Linked DNA regions of Homo sapiens: all the other regions are linked to region 7. Evidence: promoter capture Hi-C in 16 types of primary human blood cells and fetal thymus (Javierre and others, 2016). All regions are on one chromosome and are shown on one strand. The core of a region is centred on a gene start or on the middle of the fragment in contact, and the rest is flanking DNA. Distances in the headings are between cores, read along the strand shown.

What was found. Contacts are between HindIII fragments. The CHiCAGO score rates a contact against its expected background, and 5 or more counts as called.
Region 1: a contact is called between a fragment that was not itself captured here and the fragment with the promoter of OR13D1 in region 7, in 1 of 17 cell types (M1 macrophages). The highest score is 5.1, in M1 macrophages.
Region 2: a contact is called between a fragment that was not itself captured here and the fragment with the promoter of OR13D1 in region 7, in 1 of 17 cell types (M0 macrophages). The highest score is 5.1, in M0 macrophages.
Region 3: a fragment that was not itself captured here is called in contact with the fragment with the promoter of OR13D1 in region 7 in 6 of 17 cell types (M1 macrophages, endothelial precursors, naive CD8 T cells and 3 more); the score reaches 7.4 in M1 macrophages.
Region 4: a fragment that was not itself captured here is called in contact with the fragment with the promoter of OR13D1 in region 7 in 1 of 17 cell types (M2 macrophages); the score reaches 6.3 in M2 macrophages.
Region 5: a contact is called between a fragment that was not itself captured here and the fragment with the promoter of OR13D1 in region 7, in 3 of 17 cell types (M0 macrophages, M2 macrophages and endothelial precursors). The highest score is 7.6, in M0 macrophages.
Region 6: a contact is called between a fragment that was not itself captured here and the fragment with the promoter of OR13D1 in region 7, in 1 of 17 cell types (endothelial precursors). The highest score is 8.0, in endothelial precursors.

The regions. Positions count from the first base shown.
Region 1 is chr9:101,961,565-101,964,264 of GRCh38, forward strand. No RefSeq gene overlaps it. Among named protein-coding and RNA genes, the nearest start is that of GRIN3A, 220 kb to the left of the region's middle. The HindIII fragment of the contact is 3,968 bases long and covers 1-2,700 here.
Region 2 is chr9:101,709,800-101,712,499 of GRCh38, forward strand. The region is part of intron 1 of GRIN3A (glutamate ionotropic receptor NMDA type subunit 3A); the gene reads right to left. Among named protein-coding and RNA genes, the nearest start is that of GRIN3A, 27 kb to the right of the region's middle. The HindIII fragment of the contact is 6,514 bases long and covers 1-2,700 here.
Region 3 is chr9:101,787,597-101,790,296 of GRCh38, forward strand. No RefSeq gene overlaps it. Among named protein-coding and RNA genes, the nearest start is that of GRIN3A, 50 kb to the left of the region's middle. The HindIII fragment of the contact is 174 bases long and covers 1,209-1,382 here.
Region 4 is chr9:101,769,363-101,772,084 of GRCh38, forward strand. No RefSeq gene overlaps it. Among named protein-coding and RNA genes, the nearest start is that of GRIN3A, 32 kb to the left of the region's middle. The HindIII fragment of the contact is 4,715 bases long and covers 1-2,722 here.
Region 5 is chr9:101,730,366-101,733,065 of GRCh38, forward strand. All of the region lies in intron 1 of GRIN3A (glutamate ionotropic receptor NMDA type subunit 3A), which reads right to left. Among named protein-coding and RNA genes, the nearest start is that of GRIN3A, 6.9 kb to the right of the region's middle. The HindIII fragment of the contact is 5,344 bases long and covers 1-2,700 here.
Region 6 is chr9:101,746,602-101,749,301 of GRCh38, forward strand. No RefSeq gene overlaps it. Among named protein-coding and RNA genes, the nearest start is that of GRIN3A, 9.3 kb to the left of the region's middle. The HindIII fragment of the contact is 2,918 bases long and covers 1-2,700 here.
Region 7 is chr9:104,693,145-104,695,844 of GRCh38, forward strand. It overlaps OR13D1 (olfactory receptor family 13 subfamily D member 1), which reads left to right and starts at 1,374. Exons shown (of 1, transcript NM_001004484.2): 1 at 1,374-2,318. The coding sequence starts at 1,374. The coding sequence ends at 2,318. The region is part of intron 1 of LOC107987105 (a long non-coding RNA gene); the gene reads right to left. The HindIII fragment of the contact is 5,977 bases long and covers 895-2,700 here.

The sequences.
Region 1 (2,700 bases), core at 48-2,547, 2.7 Mb before region 7:
TCATGCCATTATTTAGTAAAATAAAAAGTTGGCAACCTTACACTATTTTTGTAATTTACTTTTAACATTTTTATTGAGATAAGTTGATATACAATAAATGCAGACCCATGTAACTTTGAAGTCAAATTTATATGTTTTTAAAATTAATAGTGCCATTGATGTCATATCTATGAAATTTGTCAAAGGCAAGGTAACAAAGATTTTTCTCCTGTCATTTCTTCTAGAAATGTTATAATTTTACTTTTTAGTTCTGTGTTCTACTTTGTGTTAATTTTATATTGTATGGTGTGAGGTAAGGATCAAATTTCATGTATTTGCTGTGGATATCCAATTGTTCAAGCAACATTTGTTTACAAAGATCATTCTATATTGTATTGCCTTTGTACCCTTGTTGAAGATCAGTTGTTTACACGTGTGATTATATTTCTGGACTCTATATTTTGCTTCATTGATGAGTTTTTTTGTGTTTTTTGCTCATACCACATTGTCTTATTTACTCTACTTTTTTTTGAGATGGAGTCTGTGAATTTAATAATCAGCTAAGTTTTTTAAAGCAGGCTTAGATTTGTATTTGGAATATATTGATTCTATAGATCGATTTGGGAAGAATTGACATCTTAACAATTTTAATTCTTTTGATCCATGAGCACAGTATATCTCTTCATTTATTTGTCTTCCCTAATATTTATGAACTTCATGTAATTTTTAGTATATACATATTTTGTCAGATTTATCCTTAACAATTTTATATTTTTGATGCTTTGGAAATGGTATTGTATTGTTAGTTATATTTTTTCATTCTTTATTGGTATAATATATAAGTACAATTAATTTTTACATTTTAATTGCATATCCTGTAACCTTTCTAAACTCACTTATTCTAGTCATTTATTTGTAGACATTATCAGATTATGTAGACAGATGATCATTTTTTCAATAATTAAAGATGGGTATAATCTGGATGGGTTTTATTTCATTGCCCTGCTTTATTGAATCTGCTAGTGTATCCATTATAATATTGAATAGAAACAGTTATGATGAACACTCCTACTTGTTCCTAACCTTGGTGGGGAAACAATTAGTCTTGTAAGTTTAGCATCATGTTAGCTGTAAGTTTTTTGCAGATGCCTTTAATCAGCTTGAAAACTGTCACTTCTATTTCTAGTCTCCTGAAGGTTTTTTTTAAATCAGGAACCAATATTAAGAATTATTAATTGCTTTGTCTGCAACTATTGAGATATTCACATGCTTTATCTTTATTTTGAGGTTGTTAATATAACATATGATATTGTCTAATTGTAAAATGTCAAACCAATTTATATACTCCACTTCATCATGATATGTCATGTCTTAAAAATATCATTGGATTCAATTTTCTGAAATTATATTTATAATTTTTGCATATATGTTTATAAAAAATAATGATCTTATGTCTTCTTTTAATGTCTTTATCAGGTGTGAGAATCAAGTTACTACTGGCTTCATAGGATGAGTTAAGAGTTAAGAGATATTTTCTCCTCTTTAGTTTTATAAAGAATTTGTGTAGAACTTGTATTATTTCTTTATTAAATATTAGGTATAACTTGTTAGCAAAGCTATTTGGGCCTGGAAGGGGAAATTTTTAACAACAAATTAGATTTCTTTAATAGGTATAGGGCTATCTAGATGATCAGTTCTTCTTGAATGAGTTTGATAGTTTGTGTCTTTTAGCAAATGTGCCATTATATCTAAGTTAAAATGGCATAAAGTAGTTCAAAGTATTTATTTATCTTAATTTTTGAAGAGCCTGTAGTGATGCAACATTTGTTCTTCCTGATATTGGTAACTTCTCTTATGCCCATTTTTCTTCATCTGTGTGCCTTCAGGTTATCAATTTTATTGATATTCTCAAACAGCCAGCTATTTTTTCTCTATTGTTTTCCTGTTTTCTACTTTATTTATATTCAATCTGAAATTTTCAACTACTTTTCTTCTGCTTCTGTGGGTTTAATTTGCTCTTCATTTCTTGGTCCTCAATGTAACAGCTGAGTTTTCTTTTTATTTGGAACTTTTCATATTTCCTAATTTAGGCATTTATTGCTATAAGTTTTCCTATTTGCTTTACTACTTTAGTGGCATCTCACAAATTTTGATACACATTTATATTTTATTTAGTTCAAAATACTTTATAATTTTGTCCTTGCTTTCTACTTTGACCCATGAGTTGTTGAGTATATAATTTAATTTCCAAATATTGGTAAATCTTCAGAAATCTTTTCATAATTGATTTTTTTATTTTTTTAATTTCATTGCAATCAGAGAACATAATTTATGTTACTTGAATAATTTTAATTTTATTGAGACTTGTTTTATGGCTCTAAATGTGATTTATGTTATCTATCATTTATTGGGCAACAACTGTTTGCCTGACATTGTGCTAGGTAGTGGGATTATACTGATAGGAAAATAAAACGCTACTGTATTTTATAGTCTAATAATAGAAATAAATGCAGTTTTTCTTCCTTTCTAATAATGAGTACTTTGTTATATAATGTTAATATCTACCTGTGTATAGATATAGATACGTTTTTGTCAAGTTGTTGGAATTCTGAAAATAAATTAAAATACTTCATTTTAACAGCCACAGTGCTAGCATATTTACTTCTTCTCCTTTCCTTGACCTGAATTAGTAATGTGTTTAAAAATATATTAATTGATATA
Region 2 (2,700 bases), core at 63-2,562, 3.0 Mb before region 7:
TTATACAAGTACCCAAGGCCCCAAGGAAGTGAAACACTCTAGCCTGACTCTACACTGCATTTATTCCTTTTTCAGTTATGAAAGACTCAGAGAATGATAGATGTCATTTTATGATCTATCAACATGATGGCTTAAAGAACATTTCAAAAAGTGTTGCTTGGATGCCTTGAACGTAAACCTATTCTACATAAAATTGGTCTCTTTTACTGTTATTCTCTAAATTGTTTTTCCTGGAAATCCTGTTTTAGAGAACTCCGGGTGAATCTCAGTGATTTTGGGGTCCGGGAGAAGAAAATACAGAGATTAGATTTGAAGTATGGACAGTATCAGTTCAGTCTTTAAGAACAGGAGAGGTAATTATAGGTAAATGATCACTGGGAGTCTAGGCAGGGTAGAGATGGGTGGGTGGAAACTGGGGAGCTAAGATAATTAAGGCTCTAAGTCTCAACTATCAAAAAATCTTAAATGACAGATAGTAGCTATTTGGTATTCCAACAAATCTTTCTATTTTGGAGAATTCTTACTGAGTCTCATGCATACACACAAATTAACATAAAAATTCACTTGTTGTATAGAGAATGTCAAGTATATGCAAATACTGGTAATCTTTTGCAGACATCAGTGGCATCAATGTATATATTAAGATTTGGCAGATGACTGATGCCCCAAGTCCATATTCAAGGGTAAGAATTTAGTGTTTGGATGGAGATCTCCTCTAGTTTAGAGATCTGCAATAGGCTGATACCTTCCAATTTCCACCCTGTTCTGTGGATTCATGTTGTAACTCAGGGATTTCTATTTATGGCAAAATTATATAATCAGTTTACTCAAGTTGCTTTCCTAAGGGAGGGACGACTGAGAAAAGTCAACCTCTGGTGATGAGGTATCCCAGGTAGAAATTTTGCCAAACAATTATGGTAACATTATGTGGTACAGAGTTGACTGGCAACCAGACATGGTTTTAGGCACTCTGAATGACAAAGCAGATGGCTAAAGCAAATCATTCACATTAATAGATTTCTTCTAAAGTTTGAATTGTCTGATTTTGACTGTTTAGTTCAGATGAATTGGAAAATTGCAGTCTCCACAGCTCTGAGCAGTTATGCTATGTTTTCTCATATACATACATATAATAAAATTCAATTTATAAATTAATTGAAGAGATTAATAACAATAACTAATAACAAAATAGGACAATATAACAATATACTGTAATAAAAGTTTTGTGAATGTGGCCTCTCTCTCTTAAAATATCTTACTGTACTGTACTCACCCTCGTCCTTCTTGTGATAATGTAAGATGATAAGATCCCTATGTGATGAGATGAAGTGAGGTGAATGGCATTGGCATTGTCACAGAGCATTAGGCTACTACTGAACTTCTGACCATATGTCAGGAGGACCATCTGCTTTGGGAGATCCTGGATCATCGAGCCATGATGACATCTATGGTTGGATGTCAGGGGCAGATGATGCTGATAACCAACAGGCGGGTAGTGCATACAGCCCGGATTCACTGACCGAAGGGATGATTCACACATCCCGATAGGTCAGGGTGGGACGGTGGGAGATTTCATCATGATACTCAGAATAGCGTCCAATGGAAAACTTATGAATTGTTTATTTTCGGTTGACTATGGGTAACTGAAACCTTGGAAAGCAAAACCTTGAAGAGGGGAGACTACTGTATTCCACCCATTACGTTTCTGGTTCTGGTGGGCTTTGCCAGTAGAGGCCACTAGGGGGAGACTGCAAGACTGAAGGAAGAGAAAGGGTTTGCTGCTTCTTGTCTGTCTTTTCTGTCTCTGATTTGCTTTCTGTGGGTTACCTGACTGCTCTAGGTTCCTGTAAGCATCACCCCAGCAATACTTCTTCAACTTGTTAGTGGTTCTTTTCCAGGGCAGTGGCGGAATCTAGTGCTGTCTTTCAAAACTGGAGATAATTGATAGCGAAATGAGCATTGGAAAGCTGGACAGAGTAGGGGTGGGTGAATGGAAACTAGAGAGCTAAGATAATTAAGGCTCCAAGTCTCGACTTTCAAAAAATCTTTAATGAGAGACAGTAGCTATTTTTCAATATTTGTAGAACCACTTTATTCCGTGCCCTCGGAGATACCATCAACCAGCAGGGTAAAGGTCTGAACCTGAGCTCTTTAGGGTCCCTCCTTGGAGCTCAACGATTCCATCACCAGCTGAGCAACACCCCTTTTCCTCAGATGCCTGAATTTCAGCTTTATGGGGCTACCCCTCTAAGCCTCTAAATATTTCTATTTCCAGTCTCTTGTTCTTTCCTCAGCTCAATGAATGGCAACTGCTTGGAGAATTTAAATTCACGATATCATAAAGTTCTCCTATTATCCTTCCAACTACCTAATTGACAAGTTTGTACTTAATTAACAATTCTTTTCATTAAAATTTCACTCTTCAAATAACTGACTAAGTCTCACCAATACACTTACTATCTGATGGTTTAATTAATTACTTGGAAAACCTAGAAAGATCTTGATTTTGCACTAAATTTCTCTCTTAATGACTATCACCCAGAAGAGCCTTTTGAACTACAGAGTGCAATTCTTCCTGGACTTCACTAGCTTCAAACCAGGTCATGGGTTTCACTGTACTTCAGAGCTGCTTCAAAGTTACAGAACTAAGTGGAAGAACAAATGAGGTAGACAAGGCAGTGAGTAGGAAATGGTGGGAAA
Region 3 (2,700 bases), core at 46-2,545, 2.9 Mb before region 7:
TAAACTTTATTTCCATCATAACTCTGTGTATTATGTCAAATGTGATAAAAATGGACATATTATTTAGAAAAAGTATACCTTTTCACATATTGTATTAGAAGATTTCTCTTACGTATTTCTGCTTACTTTTTGTATTCTGCAATACAATAATAAAATATTTTCAAACATACTTGATAAAAATTTGAACTGCAGGAATGTAATTTTGTGTTTTTTTCCAATGACAGTTGCTTAGTTTTTTATGTGCTGTAGAATTCACAGAGCTTAACTGGCATATTGTACATTTATGTTTTATGGTACTGGGCTCAAAATAGTTAAATACTAAAATTCCTGAGCTAATTCATGCAAAGAAAATATTTAATAGCGAGTTACACAGGAGGAATAGTGGTGACCTTATTTTTTCTAGTGTGTTATTCATTTTCAGCTCAGAGCCAAACTTGAAGTCCCTCTTCCTGCCAAAAAGAAGTGGGATAACCCCCTGTCCATCACACAGCAGAGCAGAATACTGATTCTGCAGAACATAGGCAGTCAGCCAAAGAATAAAGAAACAGAGAACAGAATCTGCTCAGCCATGCTAGGAGGAACCAAAATGAACTCCCATGGAAAAAATCTGTAGAAGACATTTATTAGATGGTATTGGAAGGTTTATAAGCACTCTCATACTTAAGGTGAAGTTCTATCAGGTAGAGAATGAAGCTATAGTTTTTCTGCAATTAGTAATAGGTATGCTGATGGAAGGCAGTATCATTCAATTACAGGCTAGTATGAGTCAGTAATGGAGCTGGACACACAGACTAGAATCAGCCACAAGTGAATGAATGAGCAAAATCTAGAATAGACTAGAATAGAAAATCTCTTAGTCAAACCAGGTGAAGAGTTTTCCTAGTTCATTAGAAAAATGAATGTGCAAATTAATATTCATTTATTTAATCATTCAGTATATATATTTTCTGAGCATTCTTGGTCTAGATGCTAAGAGAAAATTGAACAAAGCAGATATGGTTCTTACCTTTTTTGGAGATACTGTCTAAGGAAGGAGGCAGATTAATACAATGATCAAAATACAAATGTGAAATCACAACTGTGAAAAGTCCTTTCATCCTAGAGCATTTGCTCCAGCTGTCCCCTCTGCCTGGAACATGCTTCCCCAGCTGTCTGTTTAATTCTTTCACCTTTTTCAAGTGATTGCTCAAATTTTATCTTCCAAATAAAGCTTACCTTGATCACTCTATTAATACTACAGCCTTACACTTTTCCCTTAATGGCACTCTGAATTCCTCTGCCCTACACTACTTTTTTTGCATAAAATTTATCATCTTTTAACATCTGATGTGATTTACTAATTTACAAACCTATTGGTATTATCTGTCCACTGCTAGAATATAAGCTTCTTGAAGACAGTGACCTGTGTTGTTTCATTAGGTTCACATTCCAAGTACCTAGGACAGTGTCCAACACACAGGAGATGCTCAATATTCATTAAAGGAGTGAACAAGTGAGGTCACAAGAGTCTATCAAAATATCTTGCAGTGGTCAAAATAGTAAAAGTTGTAATAAATTACTATACATAACTTCACAGTAAAATGTATATTGTTTTCTTTTCATGTAATTCACTGAGGTTTTCAATTTTCTCCATTAATTTTTTCATGAAGTTCCAAGAATCATAAAACAAACAAACAAACAAACAAACAATAAAACAAGACAATACCTATCTGACTCTTCATTTCAATTCTGATCCTCACATTGTGCCAACCAGGAAAGTGGCTTCCTTGCAGAATGTCACTTTAACATGATTTATTTTTATCTGAGGGTGCCACATGTTACACACATTTAACATTACATACCTAGATGTATATGACATGGGATAGTATACTTTGTTTTCACAATGTATCACAATGCTTCCTTGGCCTCTGATGTCTCAGTTCTTTTGTGCTATTCATCTTTTCACATCTAAAATTTTACTACAATACTTAACTTTCTTGATCTTCTCCATTATTATTTTCATAAAATTGTAATTTATGAAACATTTCCATGGTTTACAGAGGAGAATATTTGAAATCACAATTGTCCTGGAAAATGTAGGTTATATGAGCACAATCCCTGCAAAGGATCTGCAACATAGAGTTAAGCATTGATTATATGCTAGCATCTGGGGTTTTAAAAAATGAGAGGACATAGAGGATCCTCAAAGAGTTGCTTGGCTCTATTAGCCTTGGAATTGAGCCATTAGAAATGCTTCACTGCAGCCTAAATTCTGGGCCAGTCATGTGTAAGTGTTGTCATAATTTAAGGAGCCTGGTGAAGCTAACATTTTTTTTCCTTCTTCTCTGCTGGTCCCCTTGGGAATTACCTATATTCTGCAGAAATCAAACCTACATGCAACTGGTTATCTTTATGCACACAAATGGGGTTCATTGACATAGGTTTCCTTAAAAACCCCATCCTTCACCCCCAGACACTTAATAAGAAAGTCCTTTAACCTTAGATACAAGTAGAATTATACGTGTTTCATGAAATTTGTCGTTGTCATTGGATCCTGTCACACAGTGGTTTGGCATGAATGGGGCATATTGGTGTTGAGAGGATGAGAGATGAGGTTGGAGAGTTAATGAGGAACCAAATCAGAAGAGTATGTTATGCTACGCTGGGGCCTGTGAACTTTATCCTGAGGGTAGAAGGGTTCCACTAAGCATTTTATTTCAT
Region 4 (2,722 bases), core at 126-2,625, 2.9 Mb before region 7:
ATCAGTTCTTTCATCTCTGATTTGACAGCTGGCCCTGAACAACTTGGTGAGTCTATGCTGCTTTTCTTACTTAGGGAACTGTGTTTACACAAAGGACTTCTCATTTGTGGCAACTCAAAGTTGCAATGATTCGACAATGAAGCAATGGATGGCCCAGTCATTAGAAGGCAGGTGAAAGGGAAGCATCATATTAATCAAGGAACTTGAGTTCCCACTGTAATGCATTTGTCAATTAGACATAGAGAGTTTCAGTGCAGCTCTTCACTTGTTTTTTGTAGGGAGAGGGTTGGAGAATCCCTTTAATCCTAAAGAAACTGGCTGGCAGGAAGGCATTTAGACACTCAACATGTATTGATTTGTTTTTAGACTTTCTGCAGACTTGGAGGAAAGAATGTAATGCCTCATAGGTTTCCATAATACTTCCCAATGTGGGTTCTTGTGAGTCCACTGTGATTCCCATCAGGAAACTTCAGGAAGAAATTGCTTTTTATCTATGGGTTTGGAATATAGATATTGAAGCCTGTAAGAAGGATTAGGGTTTGACACTGGCTAGAAGATGAGAAAATCCTCAAGGCAGCATTCCGACGACAAGAGAGTGAAATAGAAAACTTGTTAAAATGTCAGAGGAAAAATATTTCTACTGCAAGGAGCTATCAAGGATATACTTTACTTCTTGCTAAAGACTGAGTTTGAAAATTGGGAAGCATTAATTTTATAAATATGTCAAGACTGTGATGCATTTGAAAGAAATCAACTTGGTAATGACTACAGAGGGCAGACTTCTCTCTCAGGACTATTGGAAAGGTTTTATAAAATAATGCCTGTAGATGCCCAAGATAGCATCTGTTATATAATGCTGAAATCAGTATTAAAAGCTGCAAACAAACAAAAAATTAAAATTAGTTATTACATAGGCATTTCTTTTAGCATTTACCATTTGTAAGTTCTCCTTTTAACTTATATATGTTGGTTTTAATAGAAATTATTATGATCTCTTTAAAAGGCCAACTAATTCTTTTTTTTTTTTTGAGATGGAGTCTTGCTCTCTTGCCAGGCTGGAGTGCAGTGGCGTGATCTCCGCTCCCTGCAATCTCTGCCTACTGGGTTCAAGTGATTCTCCTGCCTCAGCCTCCCAGGTAGCTGGGATTACAGGTGTGCACCACCATGCCCAGTTAATTTTTGTGTTTTTAGTAGAGACGGGGTTTCACCATGTTGGCCAGGATGGTCTTGACCTCTTAGTCTCGAGATCTGCCTGCTTCGGCCTCCCAAAGTGCTGGGATTAGAGGCATGAGCCACCGTGCCTGGCCAAGGCCGACTAATTGTTTCATCCAACTACAACTTGGGAGCCAGAGTTAACTGGTGCATAGTGACAGTACCAGCATTTTCTCTAGTATATAAAGAAAAATAGTACAAATGCCAGAAGTCTACATGATTCTCTGGTCTCTCCAAAGGATAATGGGTTCTAGCAGTTTGCTAGAACTCCCCCTGATGCAATGGAATTCTAGAAGAAGAAGTGGTTAGATCTTCCTACATGAATGAGAGAAGGTGTCACAGAGATGCTAGTATTTAGGCTGATATTTCAAGTATGAGCAAAAATTTTCTGTAGGTGTAATAGAGCAAAAATTTTCTGTAGGTGTAATAGAGATGAGTAAGCAAATGTGGTATGCCCAGGAACCTGCAAATTCAGCTCCTGTATTTGTTCCCTATAATTCACTCTTGATCCGGCAACCAAAGTGCTCCTTTTAAAACATAAAAGTATTGTTATGTCATTCCTCTGCGTAGTACCCTCTTTTAGCTTCACAATATCAAGCCCTCTTGTCTCTCCTGGTCTACTCTCCCCCTGCCTACTCCCCTTCTGACACACTGGCCTTCTTTCTGTTCCTTGAAGGTACTGACCTCCTTCCTCTTCAGAGTCTTTATCCTCATCCCCTCTCCTAGAAACTTCTCCCTCCAAATTATCATTCAGCCCTTTCTGGACCATCTTTCCAATCTTGTTACTCCTATAACATTTTTTTTTTCTGATTCATAGCATTTATCCTTCTTTGAATTTATTAATTTTGATACTTATTATCTCACTAAAGAGAATAGGGGCATCATCTAACTTTGAGAAATTTCTTGTTGTTAAAACAGACTTGTCATATATGATAGATGTTCCACAAATGCTTATTGAGTGGATGAGTGAAGAATGAGGAGGTGAATATTTTTGTAGAGCTGAAAAACAGTGGAAGTGTCAGAAAATAAGACTTGAGTAGACAGAAACCAGATCATTAGGGATGTATGCTGTGTTAGAAACTTTAGATTTTATTCTGAGAGAGTGTGGAAGGCATTACATAATTTTGAGAAGGTGGGTAGCATTCATAATAATTACTTAGCTTCTGTGTGGAGGGATGGATTAGGGACAAGGCTGGAAGTAGGGAAATGAGTTAGATGAGTGTTCCAACATCCTTTGAAGTGGGGATGATGGAAGGAGATTTGCATGGTAGTTGTTTGAGTTGTGAAGTCACTGCATGAGGTAGAATATTGGCTTTATATATTTTTTATCTGTGAAATCTTGGCAAATTGTTTACACTCTTCACAGTGGTTACAAAATGTGCTTGCCATATCTCTGACTTGCAGGGAGGGTAGCAGCCCCAGCTATTGTGCTCTGAATCCATCACTGCATTCCCTCTGAGGCCACATTTCCCTGGGCTTTCACTGGCCAGTGACTGAGCATGGGAGGGAT
Region 5 (2,700 bases), core at 147-2,646, 3.0 Mb before region 7:
AATCTTGCCACGTCAACACTTTATGCTAAAAGAACAATTATCAACATCATAAGAACACACTGCTCTAGGTACATATGGTGCAGTCCTCACCATAAACTTATAAGATAATCACATTTTATGACTTAATAAATTGAAACATGGAGACATCAGGTATGTTTTCCAAGGTAGGATGTCTAAAAAGTTGTACAGCCAAGATTCTAACATAGCTCTGAACTTCTCAAAAATGTAATCTCTTAACTCCCACCTTATATTTCCTCCATCATATGTTATAATTATCTCATTTACATTATAATGGTAATAATATTTTTCTGGCTCTCCTCACAAAGTAACTGTGAGGAAAAAATTATAAAAGAGATGAGAGAGGGCTTTGATACATTTAAACATACACTACAATTTATTCTTTCTAAAATATGTATTTTCATACTGAAGTATTGAAAGTCTAGATGAGAAAGTATAAAGACAACTTATCTTTTTTCTCTTATTATTTTTTAATTCTGTAGGTAAAAATGATTATTTTTAGAAAAATAGATGCATGAATAGAGAAAAATGTAGATTTTCACCCTCTATAATCCCTGTTAAGATTTTTATAAACAAAGTTCTAGACTTCATATTTTACAGGAACAAGGTCACACTTTACATACATTTTTGTAAAATTTTTCTATCTTTCTGTGTCAATAAATATATCCTCATTTTGAATGAGTACATTGTACTCCGTTAAAAAATGATTCAATTAATTACATTTCCATCATTTTGAACATTATTATATAATATGCTTTTAATAGTCCAACCTGGAAGTAGATACTTCTCTCTTTTATGCCTTTTCTTATGGGATATTACAAAAGCTGTGATGGATCCAATCTGTTCTTTGGTTGAAGGCTGACAAATAGACGAAGTTAAGAAGGTGCTATTAGTCTGTTTTTCTTCTGGATGGCTTCTCACTTCCTACAATGCATAGTTCTTTCTATTTCTCCATATTTTGTCTATACATAGTCATTTGCTTTACAGGGCTGTTAGGAGATTATTTAAACATATTTGTGAAAAAGCCTTGAAAAACATAAATGCTGCAAAAATATAATATGATTAAAATTCTTCCTAAATCTATGCTTCAAATGAATAACGATGAGGTGTAATTCATCCTGACTGAAAAAGGAGTCATCCTGCTTAATTCTCTACCACATGAACCCTTGCAGGCTCATCTCCATTAACAAACCAGCCCTGGCCAATCAGACACCAGCCTTTCAATGTCAAAGTTTACTCCTCATGACATAATGCCAGCCAGGTCAGGGATCAACCCACTTTTTCAAGGCAGGAGATCAAATACAGTTGACAGTCTCCCTGAAAGTGCATGAATCTTACACAATTAAATAAAATATCTGAGAATTTGGCTGAGGTGTCAGGTTGAGGAAAGGAGAAGGAAATGGAGAGAGTTGGCTTACTCTTAGCTCACCTCTTCCCCATTGCTCTTTGCTCCTGTGATCTCATAGAGAAAATATCAGCAAAAGACAACTGAGAGGTTAAAAATTTCTATGAGTTTGTCATTCAAACATTCACTCAAAAAGTAATATGGCAGATGCTAAGAGATGTTCTTTCTTCTTGCCTAGTTTTATGGATTTGGCATCATATTTCTGGTGCTACATAGGTCCTCTATTCTTGTGTATATGTGGCAATAGCCAGAGCTAGCAGAAAAAAAGACAATGAGATTTCTCATCTCTATATTTACTGTTGCCACTAAAATGAGCAATACTTTCCTAAGAGAGTATACAGTTATCTAGGGCAATGGGACTCAAAGTAGCTGGTTTGTAAATTATATATCCATGATGAGATAAGGAGCTTAGGTCAGTATGAATCAACACACTGCTTTCCTTATCAAGAAAGTTTGCTATGAAAAAATTTGGATGTTTGCTTTGTGGTGTAGTTGGCGGAATAGGAGTGAGAGTGGGGTAGACTCTGTATGGTCATAATTTCCTGAATGATAGTTTGCCTATAGAAAAAACTTATGAGCAATGTGAAGGACCAACATTTCTCAAATATCTTGGGCATCTTAATGATATTTCTATGGCAGGACTTAAGGCTCTAGAAGCTGTGTTAGATGTGCCATAGGTTAAAAGTTGCTGGTAATACAGAAACAGTACTGTGGCATGTCTTCTTTTTCCAGGCAAGTGTGCAACCTACTTAGGAACCTAGTTTTTTGTTTGTTTGTTTATTTCTAAGCCCACTTTTTTTTAAGAGAAAAAAATGAGGGAGAGGGTAAAGAGGAAGGTGTAAGGGGAATGCAAACATTTTACATGTGAATCATATCTCATTTTGATTAGTAATTTCGAAAAGAAAATTAGTTGAACTTTAACACTTAAGTGATTCTTACCAGATAATGACCAACACCTCTCCACTAGTTATTTGGGTAACACTATAACTTTTCCAAAGTACTTTTACTTTCTCATTTGATTCACAACATCTTTGTCAGATTGGTAAAGTACCTTCTTTTGATCTACACTTCTGATAAGTGTAGATGCTCAGAGATAGTCACTTGCCCAAAATTACATGGCTAGTGAGAGATAGATTGGGAACATCTGCAACGAAAGAGGCAGATTGGGAACATTTTGGCCACTATTTCATATGCGTTTCATTACATTGTGCTCTTTTAACTATTGTGGTTGGAATTTGACTGGGGGGTTATTTATAAAATAAAATCTAATGGTACAA
Region 6 (2,700 bases), core at 78-2,577, 2.9 Mb before region 7:
CTTATATTTATATCTATAACCTTATACAGTGCAGATTCATGATCTTTGTATGACCCAACACAGTGGAGATCTTGAACCATCAAGAAATGAACATTCTCAGCATGTTGTATTTATTAAGAATAATTCCATACATTCATATAGTGCCTAGAGTAAGTGGTATTTAGCTTAGAATAAACACATCCAGTCACAAGATAATCTTAAAATGAAAATCCTTTATTTGTATCTTTCAAATAGCACAAAGAAAAATACATGTATCACAGTAATTTAAAAATATTTTTCCTCTTTCTCTCATGCATTTTCTTTACTCATTACAACTGCTTTTACATTTTTTTTTTCATTCTAAACTTTACTTATAATCTTCAAACCTTTCCCTGTTTAAAGATTTCCCTAGCCGTAGCCTGTGGCCTCCCAGTCTTTCTCTGTCTCTAGCTTTCTTCCTGATTCTGCATAACAAACCTCAGGAGAATGGATTGAATTCAGTTGACAGGAGACTGAGGACTTCAAGCCAGGATCTTCTTTAGTATCTTGGGTTAGGATGGAGGCTGAGAACACGCATAATTTAATAACTGTTGACACATCACTTGTGGAGACTAAATCAGCTCTGTGTTAGGAAGATGATAGATGTTTGGTATAGAACTCAGAAATAAATAAAAAGGTCCCTGCTTGGAAGCCTCACTAGTGCTGGAAAATTTTATCATTCCAACAGGAATAAAGGAATAAGGTTTGAAATGGAAGAAACATTCTTAATTGCAATTGGGTTCTTTGTATGGATGTCAAACATAAAAGAATCAATGAAAAAAAATGGTAGCTAGTCGAATATTACAGCATAGGCCAGAAATCATAAATTAGAATAATAGGATAAAATAGAAACAAAATGTACCATTAATAAAAGTATGCATAAATAAATATATATTTTCTATTTGTCATAGTAAATATAGTGGTTTTGAAATTATATAGTCCCCAAGTGGATGGCCTTTTTGGTTGCAAAAATGCCACTTTACTTCTCTGTAACTAAAATTTAATTTACCTTTCAAATGTCCATTTCTACTGATGATGGAAAACTTAAATATATAAGTGTAAAGACATTTAGTCTGTTTGGATTAAACAAATTCCTTTAGGGTTCTTTCACTCTCATTTTCCTTCATCTTTTCTGCAGTATGGAAGTGGGTTTATGAATTGTCCTTGTGTGGAAGGAAGGGAGTTGACTTTGTTGAGGTTTCTTTGTTTGCTATGGTGACTCCTGATGTGGGCCTGCACCTTCTGTTGAAACCTTAAGTACTGTATCCCCCCTATTCCAACTCCTGACTTCTCTGGGCCATTGGCTCTTTCAGTCACTTTTGCATCTCTCTAAGGGAGTGATGAGAATTTTCTGAGACTCATCCATTCCACACTGGGTAGTGTGAAACTTGAGGAAGTTGATCTTAGGCCTCAATCTAGGTGCTTCCTTGGGCCACTGTTCTAATGCTTAGGGGATTTGTGGACTTGAGGTTTCCCTACAAGGCTTTCAATCTTAAAAGCTGTGCTCTAAGTTGCTGGAGAAGAGTTCTTTCTGATGTGGGATTCTCTTAGCCTAATTGAGTATTTATGTAGTCCATCTGTTTCCCCCTTGAAAATTTCAACCCTGTAGTAGTTTTCTATTAATTGTAATAAAAAATTACTTTAACTTTAGCAGCTTAAATTAACACACATATATTACCTTATAGTTTCCATGGGTCAGGAGTCCAGGTACAGTTTACTTGGGTACTCTTCTCAGGGGGTTACCAATCAATCTGTTGGCTAGGATGTATTCTCACCTGGAGGCTCAACTGGGGAAGAATCTACTTTGAAGTTCATTCAGGTTGTTGGCAGGATGAAGTTCCTTGGTACTGTAAAAATGAGGGCCTTAGATTTTTGTTGACTGTTGGTTGCTGGCTGTCCTCAGGTCCTAGAGACCAGCAGTAGTTTCTAGACGCCACCTGGAGTTCCTTTCCATGTGGACTTTTCCAATATGGCCACTTATTTCATTAATCCCTCAAGGAGAGTCTCTATTAAGACACAGTCCTTATGTAATACATAATATAACCTAATCACAGGAGAGATATCTTACCACCTTTGCTGTAAAATGTTAATCACAGGAGTGACATCCTGTTAACTTGCTATATTCTATTGGTTAGAACCAAGTCACGGGACCTGCCTTCTCTCAAGGGCATGGACACAAGACGTGGGGATTATGGGATCCATCCTGAAGTCTATTCACCACAAAACCCAAAATGAGTTGGAGAGCTGAGCACAGTTGGAGGCCCACTGCAGAAAATGTATAGTCATACCCCCTCTAATTCTCCCTTTCCTGTTAACTGGTAATGCTTTTCTTCCCTCAGCTAACTCCTAAATCATCATGTAAACTTTTTTCAATCCATCTGTGAAAAAAATTTACAATCTTTCCAGGGGTTGGGTTCTAGATCTTTTAAGGTTTGTAGAATTCCAAAACAAATACAACAGCAAAACTTTTCTGTGTCAAGCCTGGCTCTTTAAAACATGGGCTTCAATAGTGATCACTTTTGCTGTAATTTTGCAAAAGTATACTCAGAAGCTAAAATGTCAGTGGTATGATTTTATCCTCCTTGTTCTCTCTTAAATAATAAAACTTATCTCCATCTAGTTTTAATGGTGGAATGGTTGCATAACTAAAAACAAATTGATTATCGAGAGGGGAAAATATAT
Region 7 (2,700 bases), core at 124-2,623:
AGATCGCGCCATTGCACTCCAGCCCAAGCAACAGAGCAAGATTCCGTCTTAAAAAAAAAAAAAAAAAAAAAAAACAGCGAGAGAAAAGAAAAGAAAACTGAGCAGACCACAATCAAAAGCTACAGGAAAAAGTAAGTGGTCCAGCCTTCAGAGTTCTCCATCACATCACATATGATCAGAATCACAAGTAAATGATGTTTGCTGTCTCACTGTACCCCAACAGAAGATACATTTTTGTAATAGTCTTCTCTTGCGTGGAATCTGTGTAGTAACCACTGAGAGAGAGTAGTGTATGGTGGGTAAAAGGGCTGATTCTATAGCCAGATGGCTAGATATTGAATTCTGGCTTTAGTATTTACTATCTGTATGACCTTGAGAAAGTTACTTAAACTTTTCTTTGTCTCTGTTTCCTACTTTGTAAAATGGCAGTAATACTACACTTAAGAAGAGAGAATCCCAGGGCCTGGAAAAAAAGCTGTACATGCTGGGACCTAGACTCCTTAATCTCTGGAAGCTTCTAGAACAGTCCTCCAATGATTCTCAGACTCCTAACAGGTTTTTGAAAGAAGTGCAATGAAATATCCCACTGAGAACAAAAATGTTCACAGTCTGTCAAGTGTGGTTTCAAACTTTAAACCTTTTACCTTTAAAAAGCTAAATCTACTTTTCCCTTTTAAGATTGGTAGATCTAAATATTATACTATAATTCATAAAATGCATGTGTATAAAAATACATTTAATATTATATCTTGTATAAGGTAAATATAATTATATTACATATATGCATACACACACACACACACACATATGCCATGTTGGAACCATTAGGTTCTAGGCACCTAATATTTTATCTAATTCTAACTATACTCTAAGAAATAATTATTGCTTTTTCCAAGCTTACTATGAACTATCTGCAACTCAGAAAAATAAACAACTTACCAAAGCTACATCCAGGTTAAATGATATGTCACTGGCAGTCTATAAAATCTTTTAAATAGAGGCCAGCTTCATCAAAAAAACAGCTTTAAGTTCAAAATCTCTTTCTACATTTGAAAGCAGCATGTTCCTAAACTTTATTTGACACTTCCCAGAATAATTCTGGCAGTATTGGTAGCTTTGAATGTGCTGCTGTGTAGTCCTAAGATATATTGGGTTTCTCAATGTCTCAATTTTCATAATCAATAAAACTAGTACAATATCCATACTGTTTTGCTTACTGAGAGTATTCTAAGAATCAAACACAATATCGGAAGCAAATTTGTATTGAAAATTTGTAGATGTACAGATTTACAGATTTTGATGTATCAAACATTTCAATTTACCTGAATCATGTCCTTTTCTATACTACCCAGCAGGCAGGTGACCTAGAACACATGGAGACAAGAAATTACTCTGCCATGACTGAATTCTTTCTGGTGGGGCTTTCCCAATATCCAGAGCTCCAGCTTTTTCTGTTCCTGCTCTGCCTCATCATGTACATGATAATCCTCCTGGGAAATAGCCTCCTCATTATCATCACCATCTTGGATTCTCGCCTCCATACTCCCATGTATTTCTTTCTTGGAAACCTCTCATTCTTGGACATCTGTTACACATCCTCATCCATTCCTCCAATGCTTATTATATTTATGTCTGAGAGAAAATCCATCTCCTTCATTGGCTGTGCTCTGCAGATGGTTGTGTCCCTTGGCTTGGGCTCCACTGAGTGTGTCCTCCTGGCTGTGATGGCCTATGACCACTATGTGGCCATCTGCAACCCACTGAGGTACTCCATCATCATGAACGGAGTGCTGTATGTGCAAATGGCTGCATGGTCCTGGATCATAGGCTGTCTGACCTCCCTATTGCAAACAGTTCTGACAATGATGTTGCCTTTCTGTGGGAATAATGTCATTGATCATATTACCTGTGAAATTTTGGCCCTTCTAAAACTTGTTTGTTCAGATATCACCATCAATGTGCTTATCATGACAGTGACAAATATTGTTTCACTGGTGATTCTTCTACTGTTAATTTTCATCTCCTATGTGTTTATTCTCTCTTCCATCCTGAGAATTAATTGTGCTGAGGGAAGAAAGAAAGCCTTCTCTACCTGTTCAGCGCACTCGATTGTGGTCATCTTATTCTACGGTTCAGCCCTTTTTATGTACATGAAACCCAAGTCAAAGAACACTAATACATCTGATGAGATTATTGGGCTGTCTTATGGAGTGGTAAGCCCAATGTTAAATCCCATCATCTATAGCCTCAGGAATAAAGAGGTCAAAGAGGCTGTAAAGAAAGTCCTGAGCAGACATCTGCATTTATTGAAAATGTGAAAAACCTTGGGCATGCGATATCCTCAATGGGGCAAGAGAGCTTGTCTTTTGTATTTAGATACTGCAAAACCTACTGTCACGAGAGCTTGTGTGTTTGCAAAACCAACTATTAGATTCCCATTCTTTTCAACGTAGAATTTTCATGCTCATGTAACCTTCTTAATAGTGCCTTGTCTGCTGGGTTTGTAGCTGTAAGCAGTTCTGCAAACTGGCCCTATAAAAATATTGATGCTGTCCATTAAAATGAATCTCTCTCTCTCACTCAGTCTCTCTCTCTGTCTGTCTCTCTTTCTTCTCTCTCCTGCCATGTGTGTGTCTCTCTCTACTCCTCTGATTTTGTCCTCTCTCTCTATTCTGCTACTCTCTCTCCTCTCCTCCGTAT